Linked DNA regions of Homo sapiens: region 2 is linked to region 1. The links are contacts of gene promoters, found by promoter capture Hi-C in human tissues and cell types (Jung and others, 2019). All regions are on one chromosome and are shown on one strand. Each heading gives the region's core, a stretch centred on a gene start or on the middle of the fragment in contact. The rest is flanking DNA. Distances are from core to core; before and after follow the strand shown. Region 1 holds the start of TATDN1 (TatD DNase domain containing 1). Region 2 overlaps FAM91A1 (family with sequence similarity 91 member A1).

The links. The method cuts DNA at HindIII sites, captures the fragments that hold promoters and counts their contacts. A contact is called where the count stands out against the background at its distance.
Region 2: a contact is called between a fragment that was not itself captured here and the fragment with the promoter of TATDN1 in region 1, in 1 of the 25 tissues and cell types used here (spleen).

What each region holds. Positions count from the first base shown.
Region 1 is chr8:124,536,030-124,540,739 of GRCh38, reverse strand. It overlaps TATDN1 (TatD DNase domain containing 1), which reads left to right and starts at 1,655. Exons shown (of 12, transcript NM_032026.4): 1 at 1,655-1,715. The coding sequence starts at 1,694. NDUFB9 (NADH:ubiquinone oxidoreductase subunit B9) reads right to left here and starts at 1,617. Exons shown (of 4, transcript NM_005005.3): 1 at 1,453-1,617. The coding sequence starts at 1,553. RefSeq lists an enhancer at 1,725-1,794. The HindIII fragment of the contact is 5,555 bases long and covers 1-4,466 here.
Region 2 is chr8:123,783,540-123,788,100 of GRCh38, reverse strand. FAM91A1 (family with sequence similarity 91 member A1) reads right to left here. Exons shown (of 24, transcript NM_144963.4): 9 at 3,525-3,631; 10 at 2,982-3,020; 11 at 2,360-2,472; 12 at 1,491-1,606; 13 at 728-840; 14 at 351-437. Among named protein-coding and RNA genes, the nearest start is that of FAM91A1, 17 kb to the right of the region's middle. The HindIII fragment of the contact is 4,773 bases long and covers 1-3,918 here.

The DNA.
Region 1 (4,710 bases), core at 406-2,905:
ATGGAGGAAGAAATTAAGGCAAGGATTGAGAAAGAATGTCAGATCTAAAAAATGCTGAGCCATAACTGTCATAGTAGCTAGTTTATATCATTTTCCTCTAGAACTATGGACTTTAGTATTCCCAGCTATAGTTCAGTATTGCTTGAATTCTTTTTTTCATGTTTAACTTTTTTTGACACATAATTATTGTACCTATTTATGGGGTACATGTGATATTTTAATACATCCATATAATGTATAATGATCAAATCAGGGTAATTTGGATATTCATCACCTCAAACATTTACCATTTGTGTTGGGATACCTGAATCCCTGATGGCTCAACTTCCTTCATCATCGATTTGTTTACATGTCCATTTTCCCCACTAATCCGTGAGCTGCTGCTGCTCAAAAATGGATTTACTAACATTTATATATTTAGCATAGAGCATAGAATCTGAATTGCAAATTCTGTCAAATCAATAAATAAATAAGGAAAACTCAAGGAAGAAACTAACAATCCCATCACATTGTACTTGGCCATCTTCCTGCCAAATCAAGAGAAGTATGTCAGTGATTTTCTAATAGTCACATATATGCAATCTGGGCTTCGAGGGTACCCTCTGTAATTCTTCCAGGCCTACTCCATTTTCCATAGAGTTTTTTTCCCAGAAGGCCTTCTTATAAAACTACGTTTGGAGAGTCGTAAGACTGGAGTGGAGGCGAGGCACTCACACATCTTGGGTTGTTAGCCCACCCTGCAATGAATTTAGGTGATTAAAATCTACACATTTTAACACTATGTTCTCAGACTAGTCTCAGACGGATAGAGGTCGAAAGAGAATTATGTAAGAGGTGAAAAAGATGTAAAGGTAATGAAAAGGACTAGATGAAGCTAAAAAGAGAAAAGCTAATGGGAGGGGTGGGAGAATGATGATGCTTTGGAGAAAGACCTAAATTTTAACCCTGGCTCAGACACTTAGAAACTCTATCACCTTGCGCAAGTTACCAGCTGTGCTCATCTTCTTATCTGTAAAATAAGCTTAAGATAATTCCTAACTCCTAGAGTTTTGCAGACTGAAGAAAATAATGCATAGTTTATTGCTGTTAATATTGGAAAGGAGAAGATCGTGAAGAAAACGATTGAGCGAGCGCTGGACCCATGACAATTACAATTTTAGGCACTTTCCTTTATTTCACTTAATTTTCCTGCGACCCTCTGCGCTGGTCGTGCGTCCGTTTTACTAAACAAAAAGCTGACGCCCAGACCCGACAAGCAACTCTACAAGGTCTCCCGGCCATAAGTGGCGAAGCCTGGATTTGAACCCGGGTCTACCATAGGATTCTGTGAAGCGAGAGGCCACCTTCCAATTCCGTTCCCGAAGTCCTTGAACCTCCAGGTACCCAGGGGCCTCTCCACCTCCATGGGGCCCCGAGGGTCACCTCCCCGAGTCCTGGGTCCCCATCCCTTACCTCTGGACGCACCACGACTCGAGGTGGCGTAGCGCCCGCTTATAAAGCCGCAACACCTTTTGCTGATGGGTCAGGTAGGGTCCCGACGCCAAGAACGCCATTACGGCGCTGACCTTCCCCGGCCGCGCGGAGAGCCGGGAAACTGCACGCCTGCTGCGGGTGACTGAGCGGGGCCAGCCGGAAGGGCGGAGTTGCCGGCGGCCACTTCCGCTTCCGCTGGGGAGGTCCTCCATGCGCAGTCATGAGTCGCTTCAAGTTTATCGGTAAGAGGAGCGTTTTCCACGCCCTTGGGTCTTTCTGACTTGTCCCGGGCGTCGGTCACCAAGGTCACAGGACCCAGGAATTGCGCCCTCCGGCATTGTAAGGGTTGAAAGGGCCGCTCAGTGGAGGAGGGCGCGGGGAGGTTTCTGGGTGCTGGTAATGCTCTGGTTCTTGATCTAGGTTCTGGATTCACGAGGGTGTATTTATTTGTAAAAATTAACAAGCCGTACAGTTATGATTTTTGTGCTGTTTTCAACATCTGTAATGTATTCAGTTTTTTAAGAAGAAAACTCCAAAAAGGCCAATCACTATGTTTCCATTCATCCCACGTGCACCTCCCGGCCCTTCCCCTCTGCCTTGGCGGAGAGGCTGACCGCTTCTGGGGACCAATTCACTCAAGCATTCATTCGTTCATATCATAGTTAGTGAGCGCCTCAAGTGGGCCTGGCACTGGCCTAGGAACACAGGGCACAAAGCTCCCAGTTGTACTGTCATCACCATCTGGTGGAGAAACTAGAAAACACAAGTAATGGGGAGAAAAACAAACTGTACTTGGCAAGTACAATGATCCAGTCGGCATCAGTAGAACGAGAGGGAGAATGCTGCGGGATTTAAATGGGCATGATCCTCGTTTTGTGGGGTTTCCAGCTACCTGAAGGTGGGAAATGACAGTGATCACACCTCTGCTTTAGCAAGGTAATCCTGATAGCTATTATGTAGGTTTTGTGGGAAATAGGGAGAGGTAGGGAAGCATTTCAAGAGCTTAAACTAGGGTAATGGAAAAGAGAGAGAAATGGAAGAGATGTGTGCAGCATTTAGCAGCTGAGTGTTCATGGCCGGTAGTAGAGAGTGAACAAAGATGACTCAGGGTTTGGAAAAGTACTTAAATATGAAATGGAAGCATGACTAGTTTGGCGGTGAAGAGAGGTACCCAGGTCCATTTGGATTAGGTTAAGTTTGAGATAATTATAGGACATCCAGGTAGAGATATCTGGGCAATTGGGAATGTGGTCTGGCAATCAAGAGATTAGGATTATACATTTAGATCTGAGAGTTATTTAAGCAGTATTTTTTTTTTTCAAAGACGTTGTGCTAAGTCCTGTGGAACTGTAAAATCTAGTGGTGCAGTTTTCAGACTGGAGACCTAAGACCTATGTACTGTACAGTCAAAAGCAAATGCAGGGGAGAATATGTTAAGTGCCAGGAAAAAGGTTTTGAAATTGCTGTGGGAAAGCCTGGAGTAGGGGTTTGGGGAGGGGTTGTCAAATAAGACATTGCCGTGTCTTAGCCTTTCCATCCTAACCTTTGATATAATTGATGAGGGAGATGGAATAAAGAGCCATGAAGTACTCCGTAAAGAAAGGCCACATAACTTTTTAAAAGTGTGTTTATGTTATACAACCAAATTCCTGCCTCAAGTTAATGTCTTAAATCCATCCTCCATGTAGACTCCATTTTGGTGTATCTAAAAATCAAATCAGCTAAATGTTTCTTTTGCTTCAAATCTTTCATTTACGCTCCTCAGGATAGCCTAAATGCTTACACACCATACAAAGCCCTTCTGTGGTCCAGTCCTGCCCACTTTTCTAGCCCATCCCTGGGCTGCTCTATAAACACTTGTGCATGCTGTTTGTTACCTCTGACAAGGTTTTAGAGTGGCAGTTTGGGGCCAAAATATTCCTCTGCCTACCAACTACCCTGTTGCCTGTCTGCCTACTCACTCCTTAAAACTTATACCACATTATTTATAATTAAATATGAGTATGCCTTTCCCACTAGATCAAACTCTTAAGGCAGATACTGGTATGGTATTTATATTTTTTTCCTAGGGGCGTAGTACAATGACTGTTTGGGAAAGTATGAATGAGTGGCTTTAGTGCTAAGGTGATAAGAAAATTAGTAAAGGGATTAGCATCAGATAAAATAAGCAAGAAAAGACTTCTTAAAGAAGGTGACTTTATTGGAATAAATAATTGAAATAAATTTTTTTCTGTATGGTTTCCTTTAGCCCCACTCTCCTAAAGTAACCATATTAAAAGTTTGAAGTATAGCCTTCCCTAATTTTTTAATAGATTGTTATACAGATTCATAAAAATACAACATATCAAGGTTTTTTTTTTTCCTTTTGAAACAGAAATGAGATCATATTATGCATTCTATCCTTGGTATATGACTTACTCTGATATTTAATCTTTCAGTTTGTGTCATTTAAAAAATTCTGCCCATGAATCGCTAGACTAATTTCTTAGCCTAATAATGAGTTCTGAACAATATTTTGAAAAACATCATATTAAATCCCTGGAACAAGCTTCACATGGGACAATTGCATGAAAAATTGAACCCATTTTATGAAAATTACCTTAGATTTTGGTTTAAGACAGCTGACCATTGTAATTCTTTCTACATTTCTCTCTTTTCTACTTGCATAACAAGTGGCTGCCCCTTAGAACTATACCCCAACAGTGGGGGTTTTTGTTTGTTTTGAGACAGGGTCTTGCTCTGTCACCTAGGCTGGAGTACAGTGGCTTAGATCATGGCTCCAGCATTGACCTCCTAGGCTCAAGTGATCTTCCTGCCTCATCCTCCCAAGTAGCTGAGACTAGAGGTGCTCACCACCATACCAGGCTAATTTTTTTTTGTAGACCACTGTGTCCTGCTATGTTGCTCAGGCTGGTCTTGAATTGCTGGCCTTAAGCAGTCCTTCCACCTCCGCCTCCCAAAGTTCTGGGATTACACGTGGAGCCACTGGCCAGCATGAGAATTTCTTTAGCCCAGCTTATACTCTCTTTTCTGTCTCCACAAGTGGAATTCTATTCCCTGGGTGTTATTTACAAACTCTTCCACTCTCAAAAATACTTCTACCTGTAACTATTATATGCCAGAATCTCTACTGCATTGATCTTAGACTACATAGTACACCAAAAAATGAGAAATATCTGTGCAAGAAGAAAATGCAAAATACAAACAACAGTGAAAATAAAAACATCATATTCCATT
Region 2 (4,561 bases), core at 283-2,782, 750 kb after region 1:
GGTGATCTTAGAGAGTCATACCAGAAAAAAAATTGAAAGGCTATTTTAGCAAAAATTCAACTTAAAACATTACAGACTAAAATTTCTATACCCCATTTCTTCATTATCTCAAATTATGTTAAGAATTAGATGAGGTAGACATATCACTTTAAAAATCACAAAATCAATTCACCCACTCAATATGTTTAAGTCTAAATGACTGTAAGAGTACTAATTTGGGGAATGAGGTAGGAACGAGCAAGAATACACTGAAAGCCCATCCAAATCAACAGACTGTATAATTGGCATTCTGTCAAGCAAGGACAGATTCCAAATGCCCTAACATCCCCTTACATGCAATCTACATTTACCTTTTCTAGTTCTATAAGAAAGCTGTCCAGAGACTCATCTGAGAGTTTGCCTACTTCAAACATTGTGACTGCATGACTTTTCAAGTTCTGAAAAAAAGAAACAAAATATTAAAGTTCTACTTCTCCCTTTTTATGCTAAGCATACTATCAAATATTTATATTATCCTTTCAAATATATTTAAACTTAAGGATTGGGGGGTGAGGGGCTAATTCTTCCAATTACAAAAGGACCTTCCCTGAAAGTTATTATACTCCTCTAAGTCAGTTGTGCTTCGGGAATAAATGTAGTACTTTAAAAAAGATATAAAAGCATTAAATTATTTTATATCTAGTATTTATTTTAAACACCTTCATATTTAAACAAGAATTGGGCTTACTGGTGAAAGATTTCCCATCATTAAGAAGGCAGTAAGAGTGGAGTCAAACAGGAATGCGATGCGCTTCGTGTGTCCTGTAGACAGACTCAGGCTGCTTACACTGGCTGTGTCAGCTGAAAAACACCATAATTTAAAATCAAGTAAATGGAAATTATTCTTTGCTTACCATTTGGAGTGAAAGTATTTCATTTCAGCTTTATTTGATAACCAGAAAGTACATAATTTTAAAAAGGCACTATTATAGCCATAAGAAGTTCCAGCCATACCTATTTTGAAGCGCAAAGAATATTAAAAAGCATTTAACCCTAGGCCTTGTCCACTATGCTGTGTTTCCCTTTGGGCTTAGCCTCACTATTCTCTCGGGCTGAAATGGCTTTCCTTCCCTGACCAGCTGGCAGGCTCTTCTTCATTCTTAGCTCAAATAACATCTTCTCTGTGAAGGCTTCCCAAACCTCTCTAGCCAATTAAGGGTCTCTTCCTCTTTGCACCCTACAAGCATTATAATTGGTGCCCGTGTTGTTGTAATTTGTTTGGTCACATTCCCTTCTCTCTCCTTAGACTTAATTCTTAGAAGAAAGGTACCATATTCTTGTCAGTTTTATATACCTAGGACTTAGCACAGTGCCCAAAATATAGTAAAACACTCAAAGACTGCGTATTGAATAAAATCTAAACTAAAATTAGAAGGTAACTGTAAGAGTGTATGTTTGGACATGTGCCGTACCTACAGACAGACTCTATGTTAAACTGAGTTACTGCTAACCTGGATCTTCTTGACTATTTGTATCAGTGTCAGTTGCCGATGAAGCTTCTTGTACAGGACTCCTACTTTCCCCTCCATCCCATGACAAGAGCATCTTCTGTGGATCTAAGGTACTCCTATTAATGAAGAATGCATTTGCTTTTTAAAAATCATATAAATGACCTTACATTAAAATATCTACTGAAGTTAAGACTTAAATTATGAACAATCCATCAAAATTCAGTCTTATATTCAAGCCCAAAATTAAGTCGCAGCCCAAAAATGCTCTGCCTACATACAACAAGGGTTCTTAACTAAGATCCACGGATAGGCTTCAGAAAATTCAAGAACCCTTCAAGATTTTATGTAAAATATTTATTTGCTTTTTTTCTGGGAAAAGCCTTCTTAGTTTTCATTATATTCCAAAAAAGATCTGTAACACACACACAAGATTAAAAATCACTAATATAAAGGGCTCACCTCAACTGACAGGTTGAATAAATAAAATTTCTGGGCCAGGTGCAGTGGCTCACACCTGCAATCCCAACACTTTGGAAGGCCAAGGTGGGTGGATCAGTTGGGGCCAGGAGTTCGACACCAGCCTGGCTAACATGGTGAAACCCCACCTCTAACAGAAACACAAAAAATTAGCTGGGCATGGTGGTGCACACCTATAGTCCCCACTACTCAGGAGGCTGAGGCATGAAAATCGCTTGAAACGGGGAGGTGGAGGTTGCAGTGAGCCGAGATCGCGCCACCGCACTCCAGCCTGGATGACAGAGAGAGACTTTGTCTCAATAAATAAATAAATAAATAAATTTATGTATGTAAAATTAAATGTCTTTTCAAAAGGAAACTCTAATAGCTCATACTGAATAAATTTAAGTTACTTTAATCTGTTTACGGATGGAACATTCTTCCATGATGAATGAAGTTGATCCAAATTAATTACTTGTCCCTTCTTATGGGCAAAGCCCAATCGGCAATACATTGAAACAGCATTCTGAAAGGAATATAAAGGAAACTAATTACCATTTAAAATAAACTAGACATCACAATATTTGTAGAGAAAAAATAGTGTAATAGACTAATAGTGATTCTCAAACATTTTCATCCCGTAACCAGAAACTATTTTCAGTAGACCTGCTCCTCCCTTGAAGTCTTCATAAATGTATAGGAGGGAATGTTTCCAACTCTCTGGCCTTGCCCTCCCTACATCTACCCCTAATGAAGCAGGAGTTGTTGCTTTAACGGACCTCACTACAAGATACTGCTTGGGCTGCTTCTTGCATGAGTGCTCTCTTTTCAGTCCATGTGTTTGAATCCCAATTTAGGGCCCCTTTTCCTGCTCTTTCCTGTCTTTGCAAGTGCCCCTTTACTGTGCACGTTCTCTCAGACAGCTAACAACAATCTCAATGTCTTCGTTTCTCAGTAGCTTATCAAGATAAAAATCTACTAGTAAAATCCACTCAGTTATCACATCACCAGTAAATGAGTATAAAAATAACATACCTTAACCAGGGATAAGTCAATCTCAAGGACATTTGCAAGCTAGAAGATAAAATTAAAATTTATTTTTACATTCTTAGAATTAACAGCACATTACACAGTTGTAATAGACCAATATAATCATAATCAGCAAAATTTTAAGTTATGAATAATTAGAAGACTGAATAAATTTTGAATTCAGAACTTTCTTCTTTCCCTATCTCTAAGATCCTTATAGTACAAATCCATGGAGTGACCATAACAATTTAAGATTCCTTACTCTTTAATTTCGTCTCATTTAAAATAAAATTCCTGGATAGATCAATATAGTCTACAATACTTTAGTACAAAAAGTCATATAAAAAGTTAACCAAACTATAAATTATTAACTTAAATTTTAATATACATTTATAAGAACGTTAAGAATAATGACATTTAAGTGTAATAATGGTATGATCTCCCCACATGGAGATTTTAAAAAGATACTACCATATTAAATAACTTTACTTACTTTACACAAACTTACAATCTTGAGATTATATTTTCATGAGACGTTGTCAAACTTACCTCTGCAACATTTGTGTGCTCATCTATTGAAACAAATATCTTATAGAGTAGAGTTTCAAAATAATCACCTTGCACTCGATTCATTACAAAACCTTCAAGAGGTGGAACTAAAACAAACAGAAGAGATTTTTCTCAGTGGTACAGATTTTATAAAACAAGAAAGTATAATTTACATATCTAATTAAAAAAAGAAACCTCTAACTTAGGGACTGAATGCAGCTTTTGATTTATTTATCCACTCCATAGCAAGTTTTCTGAAACTCTACAATACGTACACAGAGAAGACTCTGAAGGTAGACACGAAATCCACAGAGTTCATTTAATTCACCATGGAACTCAGAGTTACTGAGACAGGTAACTCAGAAATGCTGGATGACATGGACTTGGTAGAAGGGTGAGGGAACAGGGGCTGCTTCAGAATGGGGGAGCCTGCAAAGGGTTTCTGATACATGTGTTTTTGATGCCTCATAGGCAGCAGGGGTGAGTGGGCCAAAGCTGAAAAGCAAATGACTGCAAGAAAGAGTTGCTACGCTATACGAAAACCAGGTGGATGCAAAGTATTGGCTCTGTCTCCCCATCATCCCTACTCCATCCTAAAAATGGAAATTCATCTGCATGACCATCATGTTTACCAGAAGTCACTGGGCTAACTCGTTCTTTGGGGCTTTCTTTTCTGGTATCCTCCCCAGTGGGCCTCAGTGGCAACAGGGTCAAGATCCCCTTTAGCACAGTGGGCAGCCCAACCATCACTCTCCACCTGAATGTTCATTCATACTCACTTCTATCTCTTTGGTCCAAATGTTCTAATCTGATTTACCAAAGTGCTCTGCCCAGCCAATAAAAAACAAGCTCTATGCTTTCCTTTGCCATTCTCCCCTGTGGGTACATTCACCCTGAAAATATCCTGAGAAGGAGGAATGCCTAGGCCATAGTAGCATTTGGGTATCTTTATGTCCCCTGGCCCTAATATCATCTAATTGTACCCAAAAATTTAAATTATTCCTAATAGTGAAAAATAAGACAAAATTCAAATGGTC